Linked DNA regions of Homo sapiens: region 2 is linked to region 1. The links are contacts of gene promoters, found by promoter capture Hi-C in human tissues and cell types (Jung and others, 2019). All regions are on one chromosome and are shown on one strand. Each heading gives the region's core, a stretch centred on a gene start or on the middle of the fragment in contact. The rest is flanking DNA. Distances are from core to core; before and after follow the strand shown.

Region 1 (4,080 bases), core at 416-2,915:
TCCCTGAGTGTTCTTGGGAGCAGGCATTGTTCTGGGCACTGTGAAGACAAAAGTGAAGGAAACAAAATGGCCTAGGCCCTGCCCTCATGGAGCCTGGACTCCAGTGAGGGAAGAGAGACTGTAGAATAATTCCCAAGCAAGAGTGAAATGTGGCCAGGCACGGTAGCTCATGCCTATAATCCCAGCACTTCAGGAGGCCAGGAGTTTGACACCAACCTGGCCAACATGACGAAACCCCATCTCTATTAAAAATACAAAAATTAGCTGGGCATGCTGGTGCACAACTGTAATCCCAGCTACTCGGGAGGCTGAGACAGGAGAATCGCTTGCACCCAGGAGGTGGAGGCTGCAGTGAGCCGAGATCGCGCCACTGCACTCCAGCCCAGGCAACAGAGTGAGACTCTATCTCGAAAGCAAAAAAAAAAAAGAGTGAAATGCAAGCGTGCCTCCAATCTGGTCCTGGAGGTTGGGGATAGCTCCCCTGAGGAAGTGACTCCTGGTCAAAAATCTGAAAGGCCAAGAAGAGTCAACAAAGTGGAGAGAGGAGAGGCTTGTTCCAGGCAGAAATAATAGTGGGAAGGAGGAAGCGTGGCAGACGGCGTGGAAGGAAAGGCAGGCAGAGGTTCCAGAGGCTGCAAGCTTTTTGCCTGCATTCTAAGAGCAATGGGTGATTGTAAGCGAGGGATGACAGGGCTCAGAAGGTCTCTCTGCCTCTGTGTGGAAAAGGGCTTGGAGGGTAGAAATAAATGTGGTCGGCTGGGTGCGGTGACTCATTCCTGGAATCCCAGCACTTTGGGAGGCCGAGGCAGGTGGATCACCTGAGGTCAGGAGTTCGAGACCAGCCTGGCCAACATAGTAAAACCCTGTCTCTACTAAAAATACAAAATTAGCTCAGTGTGGTGGTAGGCGCCTGTAGTCCCAGCTACTCTGGAGGCTGAGGCAAGAGAATCACTTGAACCTGGGAGGCAGAAGTTTCAGCAAGCTGAGACTGCACCACTGCACTTCAGCCTGGGAGGCAGAAGTTTCAGCAAGCTGAGACTGCACCACTGCACTTCAGCCTGGGAGACAGAGCAAGACTCCATCTCAAAACAAAAAACAAAACAAAAAAAAGAAAAGAAATAGATGTAGTCAGACAGTGGGGAATCACTCCGGTCCTGAGAAGCAAAGGCGGTGCTGGGGATGGGAGGATGCAGACAGGTTCCAGAGACACTGAGGGGATCAACAGGACTCCTGAAGCCATCAATCAGTAGGACCGGGTGGAGGAGAGGGACAGATCCAGCTTGGCTTGCATAACACCAGGTTCATCTTGAGGTTGACATTTCTCCTTGACCTTTTTGTTTAGTCCCCACCCGCAAGGTCGCATTAGCTGCCTGCTGAGTTTAATCAAATCTCTTCCTGTCCTGGCAATGCCCGGGAATGAAGAGATAATCAGTCTATTTCCAGAATCCAAAGAGGTTTAGAAGAAAAAGTAGCTTTCATTTAGCTGTTGGCCCTCCCACCAACCTTCCCCAAGTCAGCTGGGTGACTCATACATCTGTGAGACCCTCCGTATGGAGACCGGGGCGGGGGGTGTTGCTTAATGCTTAGAACTGCTGAAACTACCAGTTCACTGTCTCAGCACTAATCCAACTCTGCTCCTTAAGTGGGATTTGGCTTTTAGACATTGAGACCTGGATGCTGGGCATCCTCGCTAGATCCCCTACAAATTCCCCACATACGTAGGCCAGGAGCCTCAGCGGTGCCCCTTCAGGCTCATCTGGCAAGACGGTACCAGCTTGCTCAGAACAGGGGCTGGCTATTCATCATCTCAGAGCATAGAGACCCTCTCCTTGCCACCCGGCCCTTCCCACCTGGTTGGTGACAAATCACAAGGTATGTGACCACCACAGGCCAAAACCTTATCAGAAACCTGGGGCAGGTGTGGGGAAGAGCAAGGATGGGCGTTTTCCTGCAGACAGTATGTCCCGCCTTCACCTTTTCTGTGTGGTTTCCATAAGACTTGGTTGCTATTTAAGGAGACTTGGAGTGAGCGGGTGCAATGGCTCATGCCTATAGTCCCAGTGACTCAGGAGGCTGAGGCTGGAGGATCACTTGAAGCCAGGAATTCGAGACCAACTTGAGCAATACAGTCAGACCCAGTCTCTACAAAAAAACAAAAATAAAAATAAATTAGCTAGGCATGGTGTCACACACCTGTAGTCCTGGCTACTCAGCTGGCTGAGGCAGGAGGATCACGAGCCCAGGAGTTCGAGGCTGCGGTGAGCTATGATTGTGGCACTGCCCTCCAGCCTGGGCAACAGAACGAGCTCCTATATCTTAAAAAAAAAAAAAACCTCAGAGTATGCTTAATTCTAGACCGCTAAGATGGCCTCTTAATTGTAAAACAGAGTGGCTATCTCTTAGTAGGAATTGCCAAATAGAACTTTTGGGATTTTAATATATTCTTTTTTTTTAAAAAAAGTGATAGGATCTTGCTATGTTGCCCAGGCCAGTCTCCAACTCCTGGTTTCAAATGATCCTCTCGCTTCAGCCTCCCAGAATGTTGAGATGACAGGTGTGAGCCACAGTGCCCGGCCATTAATATCTTCTTGAAAACAGTCTTTGCGAAGTGGTTATGTTGTGGTTTTCAGGAACTTTTCTGATTTATTCGCCATTAGACACAGTCACGATAGAACTTTAAATTCAACCTGGCTAAGTGTGATAACACCAAAGGTTAGTCAGAAAGTAAAACCTCATTGGAATCTAGCTAGACTCCCTGGCAAGGTGTACTGAGAAATGTTTGAAGCTTACCAAGAAAAATAAAATATTGAAAACACCCCAAAGCATGCTGCAGTAAAATACAAACTAAGCAAAGACTCACCGATGAAACTCGGATGTTGAAGCCGGTACAAGGGCATGGTGAGGACGCACAGGATCTCGTGAGTAGGTTTCATAACTAGGATGTTCTTGACTTGATATTTAGGATTGTCTTACCTTTCTCCAACCCTCTAACACCTGACCAACACCCCAAGGTGGTAGAAGTTGCCAGGGACAGATAACATGGCAGCCAGCGGGAAGACCAGCAAGTCCGAACCGAACCATGTTATCTTCAAGAAGATCTCCCGGGACAAATCGGTGAGTGGTGCACAAGTGAGTGATTTGATAGAAATTATTGTTTAAAAAAAATGGAGCTTTTTCAAGTACAGTGTAGTCATGATCAACATCAAAACTCTTTGAGGGCCAGGGCGCGGTGGCTCATGCCTGTAATCCCAGCACTTTGGGAGGCGGAGGCGGGATAACTTGAGGCCAGGAGTTCGAGACCAGCCTGGCCAACATGGCAAAACCCATCTCTACTAAAAATACAAAAATTAGCTGGGTATGGTGGCAGGCACCTGTAATCCCAGACTTGGGAGGCTGAGGCACAAGAATCACTTGAACCCAGGAGGTACAGGTTGCAGTGAGCCCAGATGGTGCCACTGCACTCTAGCCTGGGTAGCAGAGGGAGACTCTGTCTCAAATAAAAAACAAACAAACACTGTGAGGGCCAGGGAAGCTTTGTGTCTATTTTTGTCTCTGTCTAAGATGGATGATCACTGAGCTATAAATGAGTGAATGAACTGCAGAAATAGAGCTTCTCTTCAGTCTCATCAAGACTTTAGTCCTGTGTCCCTCAGTTTTCTCCGAATCCCTCAATCCCCACACTGTCACCCCCACCTCTGCATCTTTTCCTAGCCAGCCTTGAACCCTTGACTTACTATTTAAACACAGTTTTGTCAGTACCTGTGATGCCCTTGGCCTTTTGTCTATCTATTGTGTCACCTGCCTGGGTAAAACCCAGACAGTGATCAATGTGACTCCTTCTTCTCCGTGCACCTACCCCACCCGGGGGGTCTCAAGCCTCAGCTGGGCCCGCAGGGCCATTGGATAAGGGAAAATGCCCCAGTCTGCCCCCTTTCCACCACTCTCCAGGGGCACGTTAGATGCTCCAGGTGTGCCCATGAACTTCCTCGCATGGGAGAGGGTCCACCGTCCAGCCTCTGTGGATAGCTCCACTCGAAAGCTTCTTGTGGGCCAAAAATCTAGCTCAGCAACATCTAGTGC
Region 2 (4,080 bases), core at 615-3,114, 39 kb after region 1:
AGAGATAAATGTCATCTCTCCTGTCTTCTCTGCCTAGTTCTCGGCTCCCTGAGTCTAGGCTGGTAGGATTCTAAGCAGAGAAAGCATAAGCTATATGTAGTTAAGCCCTGCTGGAGCCTGGGGACCAAGTAATTTGTGTGTAATAAGTGCTGTGACATGCTACCAAGTTTTTATTGTCCCCTGTCAAGGGCATCTTTACTGAATCCGAAGATGCTGATTTGATTCTTCCTTGTTGTCTACCTCTGCAAGGCTGATGGTCCCGCTTAGTGTAATTTCTTCGCTGAGCACTGTGGGCCGCAGGGTATTTCTTGCTCAGGGGATGTTTTGACAAGCTAGCCTCTCTAGGGCCCCTGTACGTAGCGACCCTCATAGACACTCCCTCCCAGTGCTGGCTTCCAGGTGGGCACCAGAGGCGAGAGTAGGGGCTCACCATCAAATCGCCGCTGTGCTCCCCAAAACTAGGTGGGCAGAAAGCTAAAAAAGTACAAAAACCATTCAAATTAATAGCAGTTAGTCTGGGGATACAACACATGTGAAAACATAACTCAACAACAACAAAATCAATATGTTAACAGAAATTGAAAACTTTGCGGCTGGGGGTTGGTCCTCAAGCTTTAATGCACACTCTAACCCTGGGGTGCTGGTGAACGTCAAGTCCCAGGTCTCAGGCCTCTGAAGCCTGACAGATGGAGGTGCCAGGGTGCACATGCTCACGGCACCCTGGCGACCCTGACCTCAATGGGGTCCCGAGGACATGGAAGGAGAAATACTTTGAAAGGCGAAGCAACTGGCTGGGCAGGGAGGCCAAGGCGGGCGGAACACTTGAGGTCAGGAGTTCGAGACCAGCCTGGCCAACACGGTGACACCCCGTCTCTACTAAAAATACAAAAATTAGCCAGGCATGGTGGTGGGTGCCTGTAATCCCAGCTACTTGGGAGGTTAAGCCAGGAGAATCACTTGAACCTGGGAGACGGAGGTTGCAGTGAGCCGAGATTGTGCCACTTCACTCCAGCCTGGGCAACAGAGCAAGATGCCATCTCAAATAAATAAATAAGAAAGGAGAAGCGACATCAGAGGGGGCAAGGCTGATCAGGGAAAGCATCCTAGAGTTGAGACTGGGGGGGTTTCATGTGAGGAGGTGAAGGCTGTGGCACATTGTAAAGGAAGCAGTGATTTAAAATGCAAGGAGAGGCCGGGCGCAGTGGCTCACGCCTGTAATCCCAGCACTTGGGAGGCTGAGGCTGGCAGATCACTTGAGGTCAGGAGTTTGAGACCAGCCTGGCCAACATAGTTGAAACCCCTTCTCTACTACAGATACAAAAATTAGCCAGGCATAATGGCGCATGCCTGTAATCCCAGCTACTTGGGAGCCTGAGACACGAGAAACTCTTGAAACCAGGAGGCAAAGGTTGCAGTGAGCAGAGATTGTGGCACTGCATTCCAGCCTGGGTGACAGAGAGAGACAGTCTCAAATAAAATAAAATAATAAAATAAAATATAAAATAAATAAAATGCAAGGAGAAAAGCTGTTCCAGTGGGAAAGGCAGGGAGGCAGGAATTACACGCAGTGATCATGAACTGCATGTATCTAGGCCTTATCTCTCAAATTGTAAAGTCACCTAAAAGGTAGACATTTTCTAGGTACAGCTATGATATAGAATTTAGACTAACAAATGTCTCTCTCTCCCTCTTCCCTGCCTCCCTTTTATTCCATGCTTACAGCTAAGGAAAGGTGAGTGAGCCTCTTGAATGTGGCCCTGATTTGTCCTATGCTCTGGGACCTTCTCCTCCAGCACAAAACCCTCTTTGAGTCTTTGCACATATCCCAAGCTCTCCTGCCGGCTCAGGAGGCACATCCGCTACTTCCCGTCTGCTCCCTAGTGCTTACGGCACGCACGCACCATTACACTGGGTGTGCTTGCTCACTCTGCGCGTGCCTTTGTTTTCTCCCATTGGTGCTAGTTAAAGGAATTTTAAACGAAGCCTTGAGGAAAATGGCGTGCCCCCATGTTCTATCATGGGGAAAACCTTGATCAGTTCCTTCGTTGCAAAAAGATCAAGGATCTTGTTTCAGTTTCAGCTTCAAAGGGCGTGCAATGATCAAAATGTTGTTTGTTTTATTTTAGTTATCAGGATGCAAATTTAGTTTTTGAGGAGTTTGCTCGCCATAATCTGAAAGATGCAGGAGAAGCTGAGGAGGGGAAGAGAGACAAGAATGACGTTGATGAGTGAAGATGTCGGCTCAGGATGCCGGAAAATGACCTGTAGTTACCAGTGCAACGAGCAAAGCCCCACAGTTTAGTCCTTTGGAGTTATGCTGCGTATGAAAGGATGAGTCTTCTTCCGAGAAATAAAGCTTGTTTGTTCTCCCCTGGGTCATGAGTTGGTTGATTTGTTGGGGAGGCTGAGTTGATGACATGACACAAGCTGCCACCATTAGGGTCCCTGGAGTGGGAGGGTTGGGGAGAGGGAGGCCAGCCTCCCACGGAAGGGCTCACCACTCCCATGAGGGAGAGAAGGCGTCTGGAAATCAATGTGCTCACCAGGTGGGGCCCTCGGTGTGTCCAGGGGCTTTCCTAGGAGTCCCAGTCTGAGCTGTTTCTCTGGAAACAGTGCCTTCCCGTCTGTCCGTCTGTCCTTCCTTCCTTCCTTCCTTTATTCCTCCCTCCCTCCCTTCCTTCCTTCGTTTCGCTCTTGTTGCCCAGGCTGGAGTGCTGTGGCGTGATCTCAGCTCACTGCAAGCTCCGCCTCCCGGGTTCACGCCATTCTCCTGCCTCGGCCTCCTGAGTAGCTGGGATTACAGGCGTGTGCCACCATGCCCGCCTAATTTTTTGTATTTTTATTAGAGACAGGGTTTCACCATGTTAGCCAGGCTGGTCTCAAACTGCTGACCTCAGGTGATCCACCCACCTTAGCCTCCCAAAGTGCTGGGATTACAGGCGTGAGCCACTGCGCCTGGCCACCAGTGTATGTTTCTAATTACCTGACCAGTCCCAACTTCCAGGCCCCTAAAGAGCCTCCTAAGTTAAATAGGGCAGAGAACATCTGTGGACAAAAATACTCTTGGTTAATGATTCAACTTTTGGGTCCAGGTGTCTGTTTGAGCTTTGGGTTGTTGGTAAAGTTCTATTCAATGCAAGAAGCAAAATCAGATTTGGTTAAATTAAGGTGGGGAGAAGGAATGTAGTGGGAGGACCCCGGTGTGATCAGAGAACTGAAGGACAAACCTGAGCTGCCACACCTGGGGTAAGCAGGAATCAGAGAAGCTTCAGGGGTCAGGGACCCACTCTCCAGGGCGGCTCTTCATGCAGCTCAGCACCATACGTTCCCAGCTCTGCGTCTCTTGGTCCCAGTGGGCAGTTATTGGGAAGGAGAATCCAACTGGCTCAGCTTTGGCTGGGAGGATCAACACCCCGTGGTCAGCGATGGCAGAGCCCAGCCCTGGAGATGGAGAGTCCCAGAAAAGGGGGTTGATTGTGAGTCACATGGGCTTACTTAGAGCGTGCTTCACTGAGACTGGGCGTGAGAGGCATAGGGGAGAGCACTCTGAGTGTCAGGGAGGAAGGTGAACTGCAGGTGGAGGAGGGATAATAGAGGTGATACCAGGGCCTTTCCTTTGTGGGGTCCCTTCCTGCCCTGAGGTACCCACCGGGCCTGCTGCTGATGGCACAGATACTGAACAGGCTCATGGCGGCCAAGGAGAGGATGGAGATGCATAGGCTCTGGTCCATCTCTGGTCCATGCTTTAAGGGAGCAGGGTAAAGGGGGGTTGGAGATTCCTCCACAGTTCAACCCACTCACAGAAGGCAGAGGGTGAGTGGGAGGGGTTCTAGATGGGGAGTACACGTGGATCAGGCTTCTGGGATGGAACATGGCGACAGAGGGCTGGCCAGGGTATGGGTTCCATACACATGAAGGTTCCCAGCATCTGGGGTTGTTCAGAAGGATTCCAGCTGTTCGGGTCCTGGAGATTGGGATTTAGATGAGGAGGCTCCACTTGGGAAGCTTGGATGGGATCCCAGACAAAGCGAGGTGTGGACCCGTGTGCTGGCTCACGCATCCTGGCATTGGGAGGAGGAT

What was found. The method cuts DNA at HindIII sites, captures the fragments that hold promoters and counts their contacts. A contact is called where the count stands out against the background at its distance.
Region 2: a contact is called between a fragment that was not itself captured here and the fragment with the promoter of SAG in region 1, in 3 of the 25 tissues and cell types used here (adrenal gland, mesenchymal stem cells and pancreas).

What each region holds. Positions count from the first base shown.
Region 1 is chr2:233,306,151-233,310,230 of GRCh38, forward strand. It overlaps SAG (S-antigen visual arrestin), which reads left to right and starts at 1,666. Exons shown (of 16, transcript NM_000541.5): 1 at 1,666-1,872; 2 at 3,012-3,114. The coding sequence starts at 3,040. The HindIII fragment of the contact is 6,559 bases long and covers 1-3,158 here.
Region 2 is chr2:233,344,681-233,348,760 of GRCh38, forward strand. It overlaps SAG (S-antigen visual arrestin), which reads left to right. Exons shown (of 16, transcript NM_000541.5): 15 at 1,723-1,732; 16 at 2,127-2,375. The coding sequence ends at 2,232. Among named protein-coding and RNA genes, the nearest start is that of DGKD, 7.8 kb to the right of the region's middle. The HindIII fragment of the contact is 4,969 bases long and covers 1-4,080 here.